Linked DNA regions of Homo sapiens: region 2 is linked to region 1. The links are contacts of gene promoters, found by promoter capture Hi-C in human tissues and cell types (Jung and others, 2019). All regions are on one chromosome and are shown on one strand. The core of a region is centred on a gene start or on the middle of the fragment in contact, and the rest is flanking DNA. Distances in the headings are between cores, read along the strand shown.

Region 1 (5,454 bases), core at 10-2,509:
GGTATCTAACGAGCATCTCAAACTCAACCTGCCTGAGACAGAGGAATCACTATCCCCTCCTCCTCCAAAAATATCCTTCCATCACACTCCCCATCTTGTGCTCTGATTTACTAAACGGCCCTGGGCCCTCTCTTTCTCAGGGTCTCTGCTTGCCCAGCTATATAATAAAACAAGTTTGGGACTTCCCAACCATTCACCCATGGAAAAACAGAAGCAACTCTTCAAAGGACAGATTCCCAGGATCTGCCCTGGGAGATTCCAAATCAGTTGATCTGGGGTGAGCCCAGTCCTCTGTAGTTTTTAGAAGCTCCTCCTATGTCTCTCCTGGTCAGCAGAATCTTGGCCCCTCCCTTCCCCCCAGCCTCTTGGTTCTTCTGGGCTCTGATCCAGCCTCAGCGTCACTGTCTTCCACGCCCCTCTTTGATTCTCGTTTATGTCAAAAGCCTTGTGAGGATGAGGCTGTGATTATCCCCATTTTACAGATGAGGAAACTGTGGCTCCAGGATGACACAACTGGCCAGAGGTCACATCAGAAGCAGAGCTGGGTCACTTGACTCCACCCAATATCCCTAAATGCAAACATCCCCTACAGACCGAGGCTGGCACCTTAGAGCTGGAGTCCATGCCCGCTCTGACCAGGAGAAGCCAACCTGGTCCTCCAGAGCCAAGAGCTTCTGTCCCTTTCCCATCTCCTGAAGCCTCCCTGTCACCTTTAAAGTCCATTCCCACAAAGACATCATGGGATCACCACAGAAAATCAAGCTCTGGGGCTAGGCTGACCCCAGCTAGATTTTTGGCTCTTTTATACCCCAGCTGGGTGGACAAGCACCTTAAACCCGCTGAGCCTCAGCTTCCCGGGCTATAAAATGGGGGTGATGACACCTGCCTGTAGCATTCCAAGGAGGGTTAAATGTGATGCTGCAGCCAAGGGTCCCCACAGCCAGGCTCTTTGCAGGTGCTGGGTTCAGAGTCCCAGAGCTGAGGCCGGGAGTAGGGGTTCAAGTGGGGTGCCCCAGGCAGGGTCCAGTGCCAGCCCTCTGTGGAGACAGCCATCCGGGGCCGAGGCAGCCGCCCACCGCAGGGCCTGCCTATCTGCAGCCAGCCCAGCCCTCACAAAGGAACAATAACAGGAAACCATCCCAGGGGGAAGTGGGCCAGGGCCAGCTGGAAAACCTGAAGGGGAGGCAGCCAGGCCTCCCTCGCCAGCGGGGTGTGGCTCCCCTCCAAAGACGGTCGGCTGACAGGCTCCACAGAGCTCCACTCACGCTCAGCCCTGGACGGACAGGCAGTCCAACGGAACAGAAACATCCCTCAGCCCACAGGCACGGTGAGTGGGGGCTCCCACACTCCCCTCCACCCCAAACCCGCCACCCTGCGCCCAAGATGGGAGGGTCCTCAGCTTCCCCATCTGTAGAATGGGCATCGTCCCACTCCCATGACAGAGAGGCTCCTCGAGGGCACGCTGGGCCTCCTCGTGGCTCAGAGCAGGGTCGGGGAAGGTGCACCCAGAGGTAGTGCCAAGGGCACAAATGGGCATCTCGGGGCTGAGGGGGGCAGGGCAAGGGCTTGGCTCTCCCAGAAGTGTATTCTCCAACTCAAAAAGGCCCACTGGCCTTCATCAGTGCCAGGCTCAGAGAGGGCAGTATTCTGCCCCAGTTGCCCAGCATGCCGGGGCAGAGGACTGGCACCCAGGCCTTGGCCTCCCCTCGGTGCCTTACCCTTACTGGAGAGGATTTACCAAGGCCTGACACCAGCCTCCTCAGCCCCCTACCCATACGCCACTAAAGCTCTATGCTGGGATCTGGGGAGGGGCCCTGAAAAGGAAGCTCCGAGCCTTGGCCCCTCTCGGTCAGCCAGTGCCCCCATTTCAGGATAGGCAAGCTGAGGCTTGGCTCTGGGCACTTGAGGTCTTGCCTTTCCCTCTGGGCCTTTCCCTGCCCAAACACCATCGGGGCCCACTATGTGTCAAGGGAGCTGTAGTCTGGACAGCGGTCCACCATTCCTCCCACCAGCACCCTTTCAAAGGCTAGAGCATAAGAGCCCCAAGGCCCCCACAGCCCAGGAAGTCCCCCAGAAGCAGGAGGTCTGGGCCAAGAGCCTGGCCTGGAGACAGCTGCCCTGGGTACAGATCCCAGCTCTCCCATTTGCTCTGGGGTGACCTTGGGAAAGTTACCCAGAGTTTCCAAACCACAGTGGGGAACAAGGGATGGTGTGGGGCTCATTATTTTACCATTAACAACTCCACAAGGTAGATACATTCTTTCTTTATATCTCAGTGAAAGCAACTGAGCTTTGGAAACATATGAGCTGGTGTGGGGATTTGAACCAGGATCTCGTACTCCAAAGCCCCAGCTCTCCCCAGGTCTCAAGTGTCTCATCTGTGAAATGGGGAAACAGTGTTTCCTCAGTCAATTGAGTGAAGTGAGCTACATCCCTGGTGCTGGGAATGGCACATAACATGAGATCTTTAAGGAATAGTGGCTGGATTTACCAGCTAGCACAGAGCCGATCCTGGTTGTGAATGTGATAAAGATTTTGGCCCTTGAGGTATGGTCAAACCCCATCACGGAGGGGTCCTCAGGTGCCCAGCAGGTACGAGGAAGGGGGTGCAAGTGAGAGGACATCGCGAGCACCTCTGGGCCTCTGCTCCATGTCAGGCTCCCTCCCCAGCGTGGACGTTTCTCATGTGTGATGGGCAGATAGGATTCTGACAAGAGAGGAAGGGCATTCCCAGGGAGGCAGCTTTGAGGAGTCGAGGGTGTACCTGGAAGGCTCTTTTGCCACAGGCCACTGGAGCCAGGGCCAGAAGCCCTGGTCCATCCTCAGGTGGTGGGAAGCCTGGGACTCTCCTCTGCCTGCCCTAGAGAGCAGCAGGTATCCACCAAGGGGCCCAAGAGCTGCTGAGCCCCTGAGCAGCCCTACCAATTTCAGCTTATGGTGGTGAGGGGTAGGGGAGGTGTATACTGGCCTGGAAGGGGTTAAGCTGCCCGCCTGCAGCCTCAGCCTGAGCTATTGTGTTGCCAAACAAGGGCCGGACATGAGGGCAGGAAGCCAGCAGGGGCCACACATTTTCTGCAAAGTTGGATGATTCACTGCTGACTTGGGGACACCCAGGGGACAGAGGGGACACCATCCCAGGAAGAATCTTAGGCTCATTTTGCCCACATGGACCCATGACTGTTCCCTGTATCCTCTCTCTGCACCCCCTCAGTCACACTGAAGCAACTATGAGAATTCCCATTTGACAGATGGGACCATCGAGGCTGAGGGAAGCTGTGCAGCCAGTCCAAGGTCACACAACCAACACAAGGTAGAAGCAGGGTGAGTGCGGTTCCTTCTGACCCACAGTCCATGCCACACTCCACAGTGAAGCTCAGAGAGGGGGAAAGCAGAGCAGTCCAGGCCACAGAGGCAGGCACAGGGACAAGCCAGGAGCCCAGTGATACCAGGGGAAGGAATGTTCTAGGAGGCAGGGCCTCAGGAGCTTCACCTCTGGCTGAGGAGATACTAAAAAGTCTGTCCTGATCCAGGTTCAAGCTGGTGTTAAGTGGGTAAATCATGGAGGGCTTGCTGGAGGAAGAGTGGGAATCCCAGATGCTAGGAGGCCTTGGGCAGCCCCTCTGCAGCCTGCACCTCAGTCTTCCCATCTCTTGAGAGTAGGGGATGGTCCCTAAACTAATTCAGGGATTTCCAGGTTGTCTGCCTTGGACCATAGCAAAACAGTCAGATCCTGGCAGGTCCAGATACTAGAAGGAGGAGGAAGTGGGACCCAGGGGCAGGCCGGGCTGGTGGTGAATGAGATTTCCTTCTGCAGAGGAACAGAAAGAGTAGGAGGTGGGCCCAGAGTAGAGCCAGGAAATGAGGTCAAGCGTAAGTTGGCCAGTCAAAGCCACACCCACCAGGCTGGAGAGGGCGGGTAGATAGGAGTCAAGACACCTGCACCCTTACTGAGCACCTACTGTGTGCCAGGCTTTGCACCCATGATCTCATTTAATCCTCCTGCCCAGGGAGGCAGCTATTGTTGCCTCCATTACAGATAAGGAAGCTGAGGCTCAGCAAGCAAGAGATGAACCCAAGGTCACACAGCTCCCGAGCAGCTGGGCAGGTTCAAATAGGCAGGTGCAAGGGCCTCATTCTGTTCCCCGCACTGCCCTGACAGTCCCAGACAAAGTCAGGAAGCCCAGAGGAGTCTGGAAGCCTCCTTAGCATGGGTGTTCTCTCCTTGAAGTTTGGAGCTGTCCCTTTAGAAGGCAAGGGGATAGACTAGATGACCCGGAGCCCAGAGATTCCAGCACAAATTTGTTTCACATCACAAAATAGGTCTGGCCAGTTGGTACCCTCTACCTTCATTCAGTGGGAATGAACTTGAACTCAGCCCCTGAATCCTCAATACAGTCTATGAGGATCCTCAATACAGTCTTTGAGTGATTGATTCGTGATGTCTGCCATAGGTGTGGAAAGGGGCATGTGGCAAGCTGAGTTCTGTTTTGCCAGCCCTGTCTTAAGAGGTGCCCTGCTCAGGGGTGTTTGCATATTCACTGGAGACTTTTTTGTTTGTTTGTTTGTTTGTTTGTTTGTTTGTTTTTGAGACAGAGTTTTGCTCTTGTTGTCCAGGCTGGAGTGCAATGGCGCAATCTTGGCTCACTGCAACCTCCACCTCCCAGATTCAAGCGATTCTCCTGCCTCAATCTCCCAAGTAGCTAGGATTACAGGCATGTGCTACCATGCCTAGCTAATTTTGTATTTTTAGTAGAGACGGGGTTTCACCATGTTGGCCAGGCTGGTTGCGAACTCCTGACCTCAGGTGATCCACTGGTCTCGGCCTCCCAAAGTGCTGGGATTTACAGGTGTGAGCCACCACACCTGGCCAGGGACTCTTAAGAAGGATAATTTTGTTGTCAGTAAAGGATCAAAATCCTATCGGTGGTCTTTTGGGCAGTCCCATGGCAGCCTATCCCATGAGCCATCAGAGGACCTATTTGGGAACAAGGAGGAGCTTCTTTAAGTTATACCAACAATTGTACCTACTCTGACCACCCTACGTGTTGTCTGAAAATATACAGATTTGTTTCTAAATCCTGTGAGTGGGGAAGGAGTGGGTGACAAGACCAGAACTGGAGCTGGCACCAGGCTGACAGGCAGCACGTCCAGGTCTAGGGCCTTGAGTTCATGCACCCAGGTATGGCATGAAGTGAACTCTTAGGCCCAGAACCTGCCTGGGCAGATAGGCCAGGAGGCAGAGGCTGTGCTGGTGGCAGGTGGCAATCAGAAGACCTCATGGAGTAGGCAGTGTGGGCCTTGAGAAGAAGTAAAGCGTTAACCCAGGAAACACAGCAAAGAAGAGCATTCCAGTCAGAAGGAACAGCCTGGGCAAAAAGCCTGCTGCTGAGAGGAAGGGCATTGTGCATTTCAGGAACTCCTAGCTCTCCTCGAGGCTGGAAGGGGCAGGGAAGT
Region 2 (5,267 bases), core at 32-2,531, 51 kb before region 1:
CCTGTCTCTGAATAAAAAAGAAAAGAAAAGAAAGCCTCTCTCTTCCATCCCCTGGTGACTGTTGATACAGGGCTGTGGATCACTTAGGGATGCCTGGCCCCATTTTGCAAATGAGGAAATAGAGAGCCAGCAGGTTTCAGTAACACAGCGTCACACTGGCCCTCCAGATGAAGCTGAGGTTGAAAGTCAGTTGCCAAATCTGTTTTCTTTCCCAATATTCCACTGTTTCTCAAATGGGCACTCAGCAAATGTTCAATGACTTGAATCAAATTCCTACATCTCCAAACTGGGTGAAAAGCACTTGAATGCAGGAGTCATTTCTTGTACTTCTTTCTCCCCCATCAGCCTCCAGTTCCCCCAGTGCCATGCCCACAGCACTGAGTGTACAGCTCCCTGCAGATCAGAGTTGTTTAATAAAATGAAGGTGTGAGAAGTGTTAAGAGCAGGGTAAAGAACAGGAAGAAGAGGAGGATGCCACAGAATATAGCCCTCGGCTGCCTTCTTGCTGGAGAGACAATGACCAGGACCTGGGGCAGGGGTCACAGGTGGGCATGGGAACCCCTCTAGAAGGTTTCCTGGAAACGGTCATTTTAAAGATAGTTGTGGGCCGGGCACAGTGGCTCACAACTGTAATCCCAGCACTTTGGGAAGCCAAGGTGGGCGGATCACATGAGGCCAGGAGTTTAAGACCAGCCTGGCCAACATGGCGAAACCGTGTCTCTACCAAAAATACAACAACTAGCTGGGTGTGGTGGCGCATGCCTATAATCCCAGCTACTTGGAAGGCTGAAGCATGAGAATCGCTTGAACCCAGGAGGCGGAGGTTGCAGTGAGCCAAGGTTGCACCACTTCACTCCAGACTGGGCAATAGAGTGAGACTCTGTCTCAAATTTAGAAAAATAATAATAACACTAAAGTCGGTTGTGTGTCTTCTGACTGTGGCCAGATAAAGTGGTTCACCCCTGTAATCCCACCACTTTGGGACGCTGAGGCTGGAGGATTGCTTGAACAAAGGAGTTTGAAACCAGCCTGGGCAACATGGTGAGACCCTCATCTCCACAAAAATATTAAAAAATTATCTGGGCATGGTGGTGCGTGCCTATAGTCCCAGCTCCTCAGGAGGCTGAGGTGGGAGTATCGCTTGAGCCCAAGAGTTTAAGGCTGCAACAAGCTATGATTTCACCACTGCACTCCAGCCAGAGTGACAAAGTGAGAGCCCCGTCTCAAAAAAAGAAAAAAATAATAACTGTGCTTTAAGAACTAGATTGGGCTTCTTCAATACTATCCACCTCTACCAGGCCAGTAGCCAGCCACTGGGTTCCCGTTTCAGCACCTCTTTCAGAATCTGGGAGGGAAAAGTCATTGATGCAGAACAATCCCCTTGGGTTTCACGCTGTGGGAGAGAAGCCTTTGCCGAGAACCTTGGTTCCCCCTAGTGGCCATCAGAGGCAGTAGCACCCAGCCAGTATGGAGTCATTTCTTGAAAGCAGGAAGAGAGGCCTCTGGCCAGAGAAGGAGAAAGGTCAAGTCCAGCCAGCCAGGACCTCCGGGCACTGCTCCTGGACCAGTCCCCAGCCTGAGACAGCCCACGGCAGTCAGTGACAGAGGGAGGGTCTGTGCAGACACCCATGGAAAATTCATTAACTCAGAATCTGAATGTTTATGAATGACCTTTTCCCCCAAAGAACTTTCATAACCAATGCTTTCGATATGATCTGGAAGTTGGAAATTAACAACACTACTATTGACACAAAGTGGGCTTTAAAAGTGCTTCTTACAAGATTTTTCTCCATATTCCTGTATCTAAACAATTGATAGTTTTTAATAGCCATCATTGAACCAATAGCAGCCACTTATTAAGGCATTTAGCAGCGTTTGCCATCTCCTTTTGCCATGGAGGTAAGAGGGAAAGTTGTCTGGTTTTTAGAAACAGTGTTTGTTTTGTTTTGTTTTGTTTTGTTTTTTGAGACAGTCTCACTGTGTCTCCAGGCTGGAGTGCAGTGGCGCAATTTCAGCTCACTGCAACCTCTGCCTCCCAGGTTCAAGCCATTCTTCTGCCTCAGCCTCCCCAGTAGCTGGGATTACAGGCACACTCCACCATGCCCAGCTAATTTTTCTATTTTTAGTAGAGACGGGGTTTCACTATGTTCGCCAGGATGGTCTCGATCTCTTGACCTCGTGGTCCACCCACCTTGGCCTCCCAAAATGCTGGGATTACAGACATAAGCCACCACGCCCGACCTAGAAACTGTTTTTGAGGGCAATTTTGGTACTGCTATTCAAGGGCCTGAGCCTCCCTTGAATTTCCCCCAACTCCCTGCAGGCTGGGCAGGAAATATAGTCAGGACCTTGCCCCATCCTCTCTGTCCGAGCCAGGCCCACTCCTTCCTGGTTGAGGAGCTCCCAGGCAGCCCAGTGAGCCCTGGGCTCAGTGAATTGTGCCAGACTTGGGGCAGGGAACATCTCCATGGCAGTGGTGCAGAGTGAACCACCCACAAAACAGCTCCTTGAGGAGAAATTGCCTTTGGAGTTTCAGCTCCTTAACTGCCTGTGCACGGCCCAGAAAACCTGCCAGAGGGTGATCTTCATTGAACTAGAGCAGCAGCAGGAAGGCCTTTGCTGAAGAGGCACAAATAACCCTCGCCAAGGCCCTTCTCAGGACCCTGCTGCTGCTGCTGCTGCTGCTGCAGATTGAGGGAGGAGGCGCCCAGGCACTGGTGATGGGTTTTCGGAAAACAGCTCCCACATCTGTGCCTTACACTAACTGGGGGCCCAACAGCTGGGCTGCTTCCAGAGGCAGGGCCAGGCCAGCAGTAGCAATAAGAAGCTTTAGAGGTGATTCGGTAGACGGCCCAGAATCCTGAATACATGGGGCATGATTGCATGCCAAGCGCTTTCTTTACATGCATTGTGGCATTTAAGCCCCCCAAAACTCCAGTGACAGAGGCTTTTAGGAACCCTATGTGAGAGACGAGGAGACTGTGGCATGGAGACATTAAGGAATTTATTCAAAGAGCGAAGTTGCAGAGGCAGAAGCAAACCCATGTCTATGTGACCACACACGACTCCCAGGTGCCAAACAGGCAGTGTCCACTCTTCTACCTCCAACCTCACCAGCCTTGCCCCTGGTTCATCCCAAAGCCGCTCACCACAGCCAATGCACAACCACATCTGTTCCCATCAGACATGGGTCCCACTTGTTGCCATCCGAAGGGCACAATGTCTCTCTCCATGAAGCTCACCAGTTTGCCCCGTGCAGATGGTGATTGTGATCGTGACTATGACTGTGTTCTTACTCATGGCCGGTGATCTCTCAGCAGCTGCCCTGGGTGAGGGAGGAGATGCAGACAGAACCTCTTTGCCGTACCCTCTGCCTGCCTTGGGTAAGGACTGGACCAGCTACTACTGGAAAAGCACCCCATAGGCCTCATCCTAAAGAAACCCACCCTCATCCACCCTCTTAACAACTGCCACAGGTGGGTTCTGAGCACTTAATACCTTGCCCTCCCCATCCTCAAGTCCTCCAAAAGCTCCTCTTGCTTTCAGGATAAAACCCAAGTTTCTGACCTCACGTAGCAGGTGTCTTATGATCTCACCTTCTCAGCCTCTCCAAGCTCACCTCCGCCCTGCACCCTTCCACCCACTAGTCATGCCAGTCAATGTGCCCTTCCCTGCGACATTGTCCACTGTCACCACTCCAGACATTTACACGCAGGCTTTCCTCTCTTTACAATGCACTTCCTTTCCATGAAGCTGTCTGCTGGGAAAAAGCTATTCAGCTTGCAAACTCTGGCTCAGGGGTTTTTCCCCTGAGAAGGCTTCCGTGGGGTCCCCTCCCCACTAACCTCCAGGCACAGAAAAGGGTTCTCTTCTCCTGGCCGCTCTCCTCAACACCTAGTGCATCCATCTCTGTACTTCGCTCTCACCTCTGTATTTTCAACATTGGTGTACATGCGTTTCCCCTGGTCTGTGAGCTCCTGGAGAGCAGGGCAGTGCTTGAGCAAGTGCTATATTCTGGGACCCTAATCTGGCCTGGACAGTGATTGACACTAAAAGAATTGTGTTGATTGAGTGAGCAGGAAGAGGGCGTTGCAGTGGTCCAAGAAGGGAAGATGTGGGGAGGGTCTGGATGAAGTCAGTGGCACTGGAGGTGGCAACAGAGAGCTGCCCATTTGAATTGTTTCCATGAGGTGGGCATTCTAAGGAGTGTGGTGCCAGAGGCCCATGATAAGCTGGATGCTCAAGGATGAGTGACACGTGGGTGGGTGGACGGATGGAGAGGAGAGGACATCCACTCCACTTAGAGACAGTGATCTGGGGAGACCTTGGCAGCAGAAGGAAGGACAAAGAACATGAGCCCCTTCTGAGGTCCAGCTGTATTCTTGGCATCGTGCAGGCCAGTTACAGTCTCCAATTTCATACACCCAGGAATCATCGATAACCAAAAGTCAGGGGGCAGCAGTCAACTTCTGCTCAGCACTGACACCTTTAAGAAAAATCCATAAACAATCCGCAGACTGGGGAGAAAATTTTCATATCTAGAATATATAAAGAACCCCTACAAATCAATAATAAAAAGACAACCAACCCAATATTTTCAGTGGGAAAAAGATTGGAACAGACACATCACAAAAGAAAATATGTGAATGACCTAGAATTATGTGAAAAATAAGCTCAAAATCATTAGTCATCACAGAAATGCACAATAAAAGCAAAATGAGATACTACTACTCATACCCCAGAGTGGCTAAAATAAAAAAGACTAGCACCAAAGCTTGGCAAGGATGTGGAGCAATTAGAACTCTCCGTATTACTAGTGGGAGTGTAAAATGGTGCACCACTTCAGAAAATGTTTGGCAATTATAAAGTTAAACATACAGCCACCTGCAACCCAACAATTCCACCCCAATTATCAACCCAAGAGAAATGAAGACATTTGCCCACACAGAGCCTTGTACATGAGTGTTTGGAGAAGCTTATTCATTAGAGCCCAACAAGGCAAACAACCCAAGAGTCCATCAGTAAGTGAAGGGGAAACAAAGTGTGCTGTCCATCTATGCAATGAAAAATTAATCAGCAATGAAAGTAATGAACTACTGATACATGCGACAATATGGATGAACCTCAAAAACATTGTTCAGAGTGAAAGAAACAGTATTTATTGTTATATACATAATTCCAATATATAATACCATTTATACAAAATTGAAGAACAGAGCTTACAGGCTGGGCGCAGTGAGATTTACATCTGTAATCTCAGCACTTTG

The links. Contacts are between HindIII fragments. The study calls those that stand out against the background at their distance.
Region 2: a contact is called between a fragment that was not itself captured here and the fragment with the promoter of CDH5 in region 1, in 1 of the 25 tissues and cell types used here (spleen).

What each region holds. Positions count from the first base shown.
Region 1 is chr16:66,365,432-66,370,885 of GRCh38, forward strand. CDH5 (cadherin 5) reads left to right here and starts at 1,260. Exons shown (of 12, transcript NM_001795.5): 1 at 1,260-1,327. All of the region lies in intron 2 of LOC105371318 (a long non-coding RNA gene), which reads right to left. RefSeq lists enhancers at 1,153-1,702, 2,513-3,219 and a silencer at 3,747-3,826. The HindIII fragment of the contact is 33,771 bases long and covers 1-5,454 here.
Region 2 is chr16:66,313,981-66,319,247 of GRCh38, forward strand. No RefSeq gene overlaps it. Among named protein-coding and RNA genes, the nearest start is that of CDH5, 50 kb to the right of the region's middle. The HindIII fragment of the contact is 5,037 bases long and covers 1-3,800 here.